3 separate regions of the Homo sapiens genome follow, and regions 1 and 3 are each linked to region 2. The links are contacts of gene promoters, found by promoter capture Hi-C in blood cells and fetal thymus (Javierre and others, 2016). All regions are on one chromosome and are shown on one strand. Each heading gives the region's core, a stretch centred on a gene start or on the middle of the fragment in contact. The rest is flanking DNA. Distances are from core to core; before and after follow the strand shown.

The links. The method cuts DNA at HindIII sites, captures the fragments that hold promoters and counts their contacts. A CHiCAGO score of 5 or more calls a contact.
Region 1: a fragment that was not itself captured here is called in contact with the fragment with the promoter of PTAR1 in region 2 in 1 of 17 cell types (non-activated CD4 T cells); the score reaches 7.7 in non-activated CD4 T cells.
Region 3: a fragment that was not itself captured here is called in contact with the fragment with the promoter of PTAR1 in region 2 in 1 of 17 cell types (non-activated CD4 T cells); the score reaches 6.0 in non-activated CD4 T cells.

What each region holds. Positions count from the first base shown.
Region 1 is chr9:71,913,698-71,917,083 of GRCh38, forward strand. All of the region lies in intron 1 of C9orf85 (chromosome 9 open reading frame 85), which reads left to right. Among named protein-coding and RNA genes, the nearest start is that of C9orf85, 3.8 kb to the left of the region's middle. The HindIII fragment of the contact is 1,574 bases long and covers 541-2,114 here.
Region 2 is chr9:69,758,218-69,761,783 of GRCh38, forward strand. PTAR1 (protein prenyltransferase alpha subunit repeat containing 1) reads right to left here and starts at 1,794. Exons shown (of 8, transcript NM_001099666.2): 1 at 1,636-1,794. The coding sequence starts at 1,721. It overlaps LOC105376076 (a long non-coding RNA gene), which reads left to right and starts at 1,878. Exons shown (of 4, transcript XR_929910.3): 1 at 1,878-2,256. RefSeq lists enhancers at 1,292-1,341, 2,816-3,566 and a silencer at 1,482-1,951. The HindIII fragment of the contact is 9,606 bases long and covers 1,056-3,566 here.
Region 3 is chr9:72,370,952-72,374,587 of GRCh38, forward strand. No RefSeq gene overlaps it. Among named protein-coding and RNA genes, the nearest start is that of ZFAND5, 7.6 kb to the left of the region's middle. The HindIII fragment of the contact is 3,712 bases long and covers 283-3,636 here.

The sequences.
Region 1 (3,386 bases), core at 78-2,577, 2.2 Mb after region 2:
TGTTTTTCATGTCTGTTTTCGTAAAAAGCAGTTTTAATGAGTATTTAACTATAGTGTAGCTTCTCCTACTTGTACTTTTCATTGTGCATTTTCTTGGTGTTATCTAATAACTATGTCATTCTGGTCCTAAATGTTTTCCTGGGTCTCAGGTTCAGTCACTAAGTTGCATTTGACCATTTTTATCTTTTTATCTTTAATTCCTTTCCCTCTTTTAAGTTATGAAAAAGTCTCATTTGTTAATCAGGAGGACCACCAGGCCACTTCATTATTGAAGGTTCTGACAAAAACAACACAAAATATTTTACTGAGGAAAAATCATTCGGTTGATTGTTCATCTGTGTAATGAATAGCTAATAATTGTCTGTGATCATAACAGATTCTTGCATCTGCTATGAGTAGCCATCTAAAGCCAAGACTTTGTCAGAAGCATCTGATCCTAACTTTGTGCCTGTTCTTTACACTGGAAAGCTATTTGATCTGGTGACATCTAACAAAGGAGTGATAAAAAATGCACGGTTCTCTGTAACTCCCCATAAAGCAAGCTTGTCCAACACATGGTGCAGGGCGTCTTTGAATGCAACCCAACACAAATTCGTAAATTTTCTTAAAACATTATGAGATTTTTTTGTGATTTTTTTTTTTTTAAGCTCATCAGTTGTCATTAGTGTTAGTGTATTTTATGTGTGGCCCAAGACAATTCTTCCAGTATGGCCCAGAGAAGCCAAAAGATTGGACACCCCTGCCTTAGAGGACTGTAGTAACAATTGACTACTTGTATTAAATACTTTATGATTTGGTAGGGGTCCTACATGATAGTTTTTCTTTTCCTCCTCTGCCAAGCAGTTTGTTAGGACTCACTGCAATTAGAAGTTGGATAATTACAGATGTTTTATTGGAAGTTAATATAGGTAAAGCACTCATTCTCAAAAGGACACAGATGATAGCTTTCTTTATATGCTTGAATATACTCTAGAAAAGGAGAGTATATTCAAATTTTGTGCCATTTCAAATGGCCAAACTTGGACCAGGGAATCAAAGTAACAAAAATAGGTTTCAGCTCAATATGAGGGAATTATCTGACAGTGAAGGGGCTTGCGCCGGGATTTGTAACCTCCTCTTCCCTGGGGTTATTTAAAAGAGGTCCCTCTGGCCATTGGTCACCGGTACCCTCAAATGACTTATGGGGATTCAGAGGGTCGGCAGTGGGAATAGGTTTAAATCTTTTCTAGTCATTTAGTACTGAGATGTTGAGCAGATCAAGGCAGCCTTCTTTCCCTTACTGGAAAGGCAGTGATGTCCAACGAAAAGAGCACTGGACTAAGAGAAAAGAGCCATTCCTTAGCCCCAGTTCTGTCATTTGTTTTGCTTGATGATGTCAGGCAATTTACCTATAGCTTTTAATCTATGATACTGGGTTAGTACTATCTCTTGTCTTACTTTCCTCTGAGGATTGCTACAGAGATCATTACAAAAATTATTATTATTATTTTTTTTTTTTTTTTGAGACAGAGTCTCGCTCTCTCGCCCAGGCTGGAGTGCAGTGGCGTGATATGGATCACCACAACCTCCACCTCCTGGGTTCAAGTGATTCTCTTGTCTCAGCCTCCCAAGTAGCTGGGATTTCAGGGGCACACAACCATGCCTGGCTAATTTTTGTATTTTTAGTAGAGATGGGGTTTCACTATGTTGGCCAGGTTGGTCACTCCTGACCTCAAGCGATCTGCCCACCTTGGCCTCCCAAGGTGCTGGGATTACAGGTGTGAGCCACCGTACCCAGCTACAAAAATATTTTTAAGAAATAGGGATAAAAATAAGAACTAAGAATAAAGCCCATAATAATTTATGTGGCCCTGCAGTTGATCAAAGCCTAAAAAAATTAATTAGAAAAGAAATGCATGCTTGTTGAAGAATACTGAAACAATAGAGAAGTATATAAGGTACTGTATAAAAGTGAAAGTCTCTGTTCCCAGTTTTAGTCCTGTTCAGATATAGTCACTGTTAACACTTTGATGTGTACATTTCTAGATATGTCTGTATGATACAGTGCATATGTAATAAAATACATCTTTGCCCTTCTCATTCAGTAAAGTGGATGTGTCAGAACAGAAAGATTAAGCTTATTTTTTAAATGGCTGTGTAATATTATACAGCACAAATGTGGATTAGCTTATTTAACTACTTTCCTATTAATAAACATTGAGTTGTTTTCAGTTTTGCACTATGCCAAAAAGGCCGCAGTGAAATTCTGGTATTCCTGTCTGTATTCCACATGTGTTATCTGGTACCAAACATTGTGCTAGATATTGGAAGTATAGGGTTGAGCAAAATATACAGTCACAGTCTTAATTGAAGCTTGTGATTTGGTGGGAGAAGTGACAGGCATTAATCAAATAATCTTTCAAGTATGTTAATACTACAGCAGTAAGAGCTATGAAAGAACGGTCTAGGGAGCCCTGAGAGTATCTATAATAGCATGAAGTCTTGATTATGTTTGGAGGGTTAAGGAAAGCTCCCCAAAAATCAGAAGGATGAGTAACATTAAACTAAATGGAGGAGCATCTGTCATCCTTTTGAGGATGCTATTAATAATATATATATAGTCAGTATTGTTTTTAATAGCATTTCCCAAAATATATTTCTTAGAGCCCCAAGGTCATGTATCTTCTTCATAGGGCAGGAGAAAATTTCATGATCAAATCACTTTGGAAATACTGTATACTAGATCTCACTTTTAGAGGTGGGTCGTAGTATACATTGGAATAAATCAATGTTTTGCAGTTAAAAAATTATTCAACCAAAACTTGCTTGGCTATGGAACGCTTTGATTTACATAATACCTATTGAACTAATTTGTTGTGGAGCTCACTAATTTTAGGAAACTATAGTCTTCATCTTGAGATGGAGATGGAAAATGGAAGTCTATGGGTGTACTCTAAATAATTTTGGAAATATAGTTTTATTAATACAAGTTGAGTATTATTTATCTGAAATGCTTAGGACCAGAGTGTTCTGGATTTCAGATTTTTTCAGATTTTGGAATATTTACATTATATCAGTTTAGACTCTTTAATCCAAAATGTTCCAACAGGTATTTACTTTGAACATGATATAGGTGCTCAAAAAGTTTTAGATTTCAGATTTTTTGGATTAGGGATACTCAACCTGTTATAGCTAATATTTGTGTACTTAAGTGTATTAGGCACTATGTTTAGGCACTATGTATACTTGCTATACATTATCTATAATAATTTCATCTTCAAAGTAACCCTAAGATAGATGCAAAATGATCCCATTTTACATATTGGGAAATTAGGGCTTAGAGGTGAATGACATGCCCAGAGTTACATAATTAGCACATGCCTCTTCATTGGTTGGATGGGATCTGT
Region 2 (3,566 bases), core at 544-3,043:
AATCTTGGTTTCTTCAAATATAATGATGCTCTTTTAGTCTACCTCAAAGAAGAGAACATAAGATGATTACGACATTTTGTATTAGATTTCTAATCTCTGCTGTAATTTCTTCTAGAAAAATACCAGTGATGAGAAAATACACTCTTCATTTGTCCAACTTTTTTTTTTTTTGAGGTCGTCTCTTACTTGCACTAAGGCTCCCATTCTCAAAAAGAAATCGAAAGACTGATATACAGCAAGGCATCAAAGCATTCTTTAGAAGGCTCAGCAACCACTATGGATACTGCCAGGAAATCATTCCAAACACTCTCATTTTGAAAAAGGCAGCAGTCATAAGGGGGAGGGAAGTGGATGCTGTCAGAGGTGGCAGGTGTGTTTTGAGGCCAGCAGTGTTTTGTTTTTAATGTGGCACAGTTGCACGTCTCCAATTGTGTGCCACAAGGGAGCAAAACATCCAACGGCTTCTTAACTGTTTTACAATCATCACCTTGGAGGAAAAGAACACTTTGGTAAGATACACGTTTGGCAACTTTTTTAGGCAGAAAAGCTGAACCGGTTAGAATACTTAAAAAAAAAAATCATGAGCTCCAGTCTAAAGAATAAAATAAAAATAAATTAAATAATAATAAAAAATAATAAACTAAAAAAAAAAAAAATAAACTCCAAAAACAACTAGCTAAAATGAAAGTAATGCAGAACTGGATGCCATGTTTCTTTTCTTTGAGGAGGAAGAGGTATGGGAAAGGAGGTACATTGTTGCTTCTTCCCTACACCTTTGTATAATGTAGATCTCTCTCTCTCTCTCAATAGCTTTCTTTTCACTTGTTACATAAAAGCAAAGTGTTACAAAAAGTAGACTCTTGCGGTATCTTCCCACAGTACTTCAAGTAAAATGGAAGAGATACATATGTCAGTTCTGCAGTGTCCCGTTAAAGAGGGCAGCAGTGTTGGGATAAAAATGAGTTAACATGCTCCTTGTAACTATGAATCCGCTTATGCTAAAAAGTATCAAGGTTTCATTTGCTTTATCCCAGACTCCACACTGCGCCCACAGAAGCTTCTCTTGAGAATGTTCTGTTCACCTTTCAAAACACAATGTATTATCGGAGTCACTTTACAATTTTGTGGCAAGTAAGGCTAAAGTCAAAAGCAGCCTCAAACCACCTTTAGTTAGTAAACTGAGGGGTTTGAGGCTCATTAAAAGTAAGAGGATCGGTTACCCCCTCTTGCCAACGTCCGGGATGAATCTCAAGAGTTGTGTTTACAAGGCATACACGGACCCACATCGTTGTGTGCGCCCGAGTACCTTAAACACAGGAAGGATGTCGACCTACGGGGGACGTCTCTGGAGTTTCGTGAACTCCTATGAAAAGGTGGGGAGGGACAGAGAAAGTAGTTCCGTTTTGATTTTTTGAGGTCACTTCTAGGGACTCGACCGCGAGCGCGTCCCGGTAGCGGAAAGCCGGGCCAGCGGCGGCCGACAACGGTCCCGCCCGACACGGCTCTGCCTCCTCCCTAGAAGGGCTCGTGGGCCAGGACCCGCTGTCCGCCCGCCGCCCGAGGTCGGGTGGACGCTTGGCCCCGCCCCCGCCCGCTCCCGACGACCCTCGGAGGCGGCGGAGGCGCGCGACTCACATGTGTGGGTTCCTCCTGAAGGCGTTAGTGATGTCCTTCACAACCCGCTGCACCAGCACCGCCACCTCCTCGCTGGTCTCGGCCATGTTGGCGGCGGCCGCGACAGTTCGGGCGCGCCTCCGCGTGAGCCGGGCCGCCGGCGGGAGTTCCGCGGAGAACGAGCGCGCGCGCGCGCGCGCGGGTGCTTCGGCTAGGCCGCGTCCCCGCCGCCGCGGCCGCCGCCGAGCACTTCCGGGTCAGCCAGTTGGCGGCCTGGGCGTGGCGTTAGCTAGGGTTGGTGGCCTTCCAGTGAGTGGAGAAGTTCGCCTCCGCGCGGGTAACGGACTTTCTAAGCGTCAGAGAAGATGCTGGACATTTGTTTGCAAAGTTCTCTCAGGCCTCCGATTTTCTTATTTTAAGTTTTAGGCGAAACCTCAAGACACACTCCCAGAGAGTCAGACACCTTCCTGAACCCCCCCAGCAAGGTCCCCGGGCATTCCTGAAGGAATGTTCAACTGAGGATGCAGGGCCTCTTAACAGTTAGTCCCGGGCGTTTTTCAGAGCTTGTCTGCTTTATTTTCCCAGCCTGAGAGATGAAGAGGTCCAGAGGCATTGCGGCGGAGCGAGTCCCTATTTGACCGTGTTGGTGACCTCCTTTCTAACTGTGCCAATTTTTGTCTCTGAACTTGAAAGCAGCCTTTTTAAAAAACATTAATTAAAATTCTTAAATTTATTAAAGGAAGAGAAAGGAAAGTGAAGGAAAAGTTATTTGCCATCTGTATGTAGGAAGTAGAAGTGAAATCGTTTTTAGATTTTTCGACTTCATTTTGTACTGCATTTGGTAGCCTTTGCGTCAATTTTGGAATTTAAAAAAAAGGATCAAGGCTCTGACAGGGTTTGTTCATAATAGCAAAAATAAATTTTTGTAGGAAAAACGAGCTTTCTAGTTTATTTAGGATTTTGAAATGCCATAACTAAAATTTTTGTGTATCAGGTTTTCTTTTGCACCTCTGGTAGAAAAATCTGGCTGCCCTTGGTTCAGTTTTATTCTTCCACCCTTGAAATCTGGCCAGGTGCGGTGGCTCACGCCTGTAATCCCAGCACTTTGGGGGGCCAAGGCGGGCGGATCACAAGGTCAGGAGATCGAGACCATCCTGGCTAACACGGTGAAACCCCGTCTCTACTAAAAATACAAAAAAAAAAAAAAAAAAAAAAAAGCCGGGCGTGGTGGCGGGCGCCTGTAATCCCAGCTACTCCCCACTGCACTCCAGCCTGGGCGACAGAGCGAGACTCCGTCTTTAAAAAAAGGCCGGGCGCGGTGGCTCACGCCTGTAATCCCAGCACCTTGGGAGGCCGAGGCGGGTGGATCATGAGGTCAGGAGATCGAGACCATCCTGGCTAACAAGGTGAAACCCCGTCTCTACTAAAAATACAAAAAATTAGCTGGGCGCGGTGGCGGGCGCCTGTAGTCCCAGCTACTCGGGAGGCTGAGGCAGGAGAATGGCGTGAACCCGGGAAGCGGAGCTTGCAGTGAGCCGAGATTGCGCCACTGCAGTCCGCAGTCCGGCCTGGGCGACAGAGCGAGACTCTGTCTCAAAAAAAAAAAAAAAGAAATCTGTATCTTTAAAAAGCTATTAAAAAAATAAACTCATGGTGTGTTTAATGTGAACATATGCGGAGCGTTTGAAGTAGTTTTTATGATTGTAAAAGTAAAAGCTATCTATTGCATGTAAAGTGAATGAGAAATATAAACGAAAAATATAAATTTACTATACTCAGTGGCCAGTATTTCCTGTGGGTATGTTTATAAAGGCTGGAGTTAGCCTTCTGGTTGTAAAAGAAGTGAGATAGGACCGGGCACGGTGGCTTACACCTGTAATCCCAGCACTTTGGGAGGCAGAGGCGGAAGGATCACGAGGTCAGGAGTTCGAGACCATCGTGGCCAAGACAGT
Region 3 (3,636 bases), core at 889-3,388, 2.6 Mb after region 2:
GGCGTGGTGGTGTGTGGCTGTAATCCCAGCTACTCCGGAGGCTGAGGCATGAGAATCGTTTGAACCCAGGAGACGGAGGTTGCAATGAGCTGAGATTGTGCCACTGCACTCCAGTCTGGGTGACAGAGCAAGACTCCCTCTCAAAAAAAAAGAGAAAAGAAAAGAAAAAGAAACAATACTTTGGAGCATATCATAACCTGGGTTCATGGGTGGTGGGGTTGGCCAGGAAGACAGGAATGGTGTCAGTGATTTAGTTAGAGCCCAGCAACTGTGCTGTTATAAAGCTTAGGCAGGAGGCAATTGTTCCTAAGGTCCTATTAGCCAGCAGAAAAAAAGCTAGAAACAATTAGGGAGGTCAGGATTCAGACAGAAGACTAGCATGAGAAAAGTGGGTAGGGTGGGCCTCTGTCCTGGAGCAATCTAAGTTCTAGGCAGAGAGCCAAGGCAAGTATCTTAAGTTTGTGTAATGTCTTTCCACCTACAATGTATATTCAAATGTATTAATTTGATAAATTCTCACAACAGCCTATTGAAATAACTCTTATCTCTCCTTTTGCTGGAGGAGTTGACTGACTGAGGCTCAGGGCAAAGTTATATATCCTGTCCATTGTCATATATCTAGTGAGAGTACAACCTTCTGTTCTTTGGCACAGTGTTTGTTGCCTCTTCAGGATCACTTCCCCCTTTAAATTTATTTCATAATTATATTTACCATTAGAATGTTAACCTTTTTTTTTTTCTGAGAGGGAGTCTCACTTTGTCACCCAAGCTGGAGTGCAGTGGCGCGATCTCGGCTCACTGCAACTTCTGCCTCCCAGGCTCAAGCAGTCCTCCCACATTATCCTCCGGAGTAGCTGGGACCACAGACACGTGCCCAGTTAATTATTTGTATTTTTGGTAGAGATGGGTTTCACCATGTTGCCCAGGCTGGTCTCAAACTCCTGAGCTCAAGCAATCTGCCTGCTTTGGCAGATGGATTACAGGTGTGAACCATGGCGCGAAGCCTAGAAAGTTAACCATTCTTTTTTTTTTTTTTTTCTGAGACAGAGTCTCACTCTGTTGCCCAGGCTGGAGTGTAGTGCCATCATCTTAGCTCACTGCAACCTCTCCCTCCTGGGTTCAAGAGATTCTCCTGCCTCAGCTTCCCAAGTAGCTAGGACTACAGGCACATGCCACCATGCCCTGCTAATTTTTTTGTATTTTTAGTTGAGATGGGATTTCACCATGTTAGCCAGGATGGTCTCGATCTCCTGACCTCATGATCTGCCCACCTTGGCCTCCCAAAGTCCTGGGATTACAGGCATGAGCCACCGCACCCGGCCATACCATTCTTATCTTGTGTATCGCTCACCTCACCCAGCAGTCTCTAACAGGCAACTTCTGTCTCTTTTGCTAGCTCCAGCTTATCTGTCCATCTCCTAAATGTTGGCATTTTTTAGGTCTAGGTCCCGGGCACTCTTTGTTTTTTCACTGCTCATACTCTCTCAGAGCGACTTTACCCACCTTCATAGATTCAAATGAAGTACTCAAAGGAATGAGTATCTGTACTCATCCCTTGGCTTATAAATGGTTTATTTATGAATTTTTCACTTACAAAGATATAGCTATTTGTATTTATTTATTTATTTATTTTGAGACAGAGTCTCACTCTGTCACTCAGGCTGGAGTGCAGTGGCATGATCTCGGCTCACTGCAACCAGCCTCCTCGTTCTGGACTCAAGAGATTCTCACGCCTCAGCCTCCCCAGTAGCTGGGATTATAGGCATGTACCACCATGCTTGGCTAACTTTTGTATTTTTAATAAAGACAGGTTTCACTGTGTTGGCCAGGCTAGTCTCAAACTCTCTGGCCTCAAGTTGTCCACGTGCCTGAGTCTCCCAAAGTGCTGGGATTACAGGCATGAGCCACCACACCCAGCTGACAAAGGTATATCTATTTTTAAAATTTTACTTACAAACATTTTTCAACTTAATCCAGAAAACTCTTCTTTTTTTTTTTGTTTGTCTTTGCATACTGAAGTTATGCTCTGTCATTGGAAGAGAAATGTATAGCTAACCACTACTATTGTTAGGTAGTGAATAAGTGGGAGTAGTGAATAAATATCTAGAAATAGATATGAATTTATATTTATTCCATGTGGATCAATGGCTCTAGAATGAACAAGATAAAGTTTGAACCTGGGAATTTCAGAGCCAGTACTTCAGATACTGGTATATGACTGATTTAAGTTGTTTTTGTATTATAACTTACAACATCATGACCAACTCTAAATGTGAAGCATATAAATATGTAAGGGAAAATTCTTTTTATTGAAAAATTAAAAGTGATAAACTGAAGCAGGACAAATAAATAAAAACATTAGCTTCACCAAAGAAGATATACAGATGACAAATAAGCATATAAAAAGATGCTTCACATAGGCCGGGCATGGTGGCTCACGCCTGTAATCCCAGCACTTTGGGAGGCTGAGGCAGGAAGATCACGAGGTCAGAAGATCGAGACCATCCTGGCTGACACAGTAAAACCCCGTCTCCACTAAAAAACACAAAAAAATTAGCCGGGCATGGTGGCGGGCGCCTGTAGTCCCAGCTACTTCGGAGGCTGAGGCAGGAGAATGGCATGAACCCAGGAGGTGGAGCTTGCAGTGAGCCGAGATCGCACCACTGCACTCCAGCCTGGGTGACAGAGCGAGACTCCATCTCAAAAAAAAAAAAAAAAAAAAAGATGCTTCACATTATATGTCATCAGGGAAATGCAAATTAAAGCAACAATGAGATACCACTATGTACCTATTAGAATGGCCAAAATCCAGAAAACAAACAACACCAAATGCTGGTGAGGATGCAAAGCAACAGAAACTCTTATTCGTTGTTGTTGGGACTACAAAATGGTAGTCACTTCGGAAGGCAGTTTGATGATTTTTTATGAAGTTAAACATACTCTTACCATATGATCCAGCAGTCACACTCCTTGGTATTTACTCAAAGGAGTTGAAGACATGTCCACAAAAAAACCTGCACACAGATATTCATAGCAGCTTTATTCGTAATTGCCAAAACTTGAAAGCAACCAAGATACCCTTCAGTAGGTGAATGGAGAAATAAACTGTGGTACATCCAGATAATAGAATATTATTCAGTGCTAAAATAAACGTGTTATTAAGCCATGAAAAGACATGGAAAACTTGAATGGATATTACTAAGTGAAAGAAGCCAGTCTGAGGTCCGGGCGCGGTGGCTCACGCCTGTAATCCCAGCACTTTGGGAGGCCGAGGTGGGCAGATCACGAGGTCAAGAGATTGAGACCGTCCTGGGCAACATGGTGAAACGTCATCTCTACTAAAAATACAAAAATTAGCTGGACGTGGTTGGCGCACGCCTGTAGTCCCAGCTACTCGGGAGGTTGAGGCAGTAGAATCGCTTGAACCGGGGAGGCAGAGGTTGCAGTGAGCCGAGATCACACCACCGCACTCCAACCTGGCAACAGAGTGAGACTCTGTCTCAAACAAAAAAGAAGCCAGTCTGAAAAGTACGTACTGTTAATTTCAACTATATGACATCCTGAAAAAGGCAAAACTATGGGAACAGTAAAAAGATCAAGTGGTTGCCAGGGGATAGAGGGGAAAGAGGGAGGAAT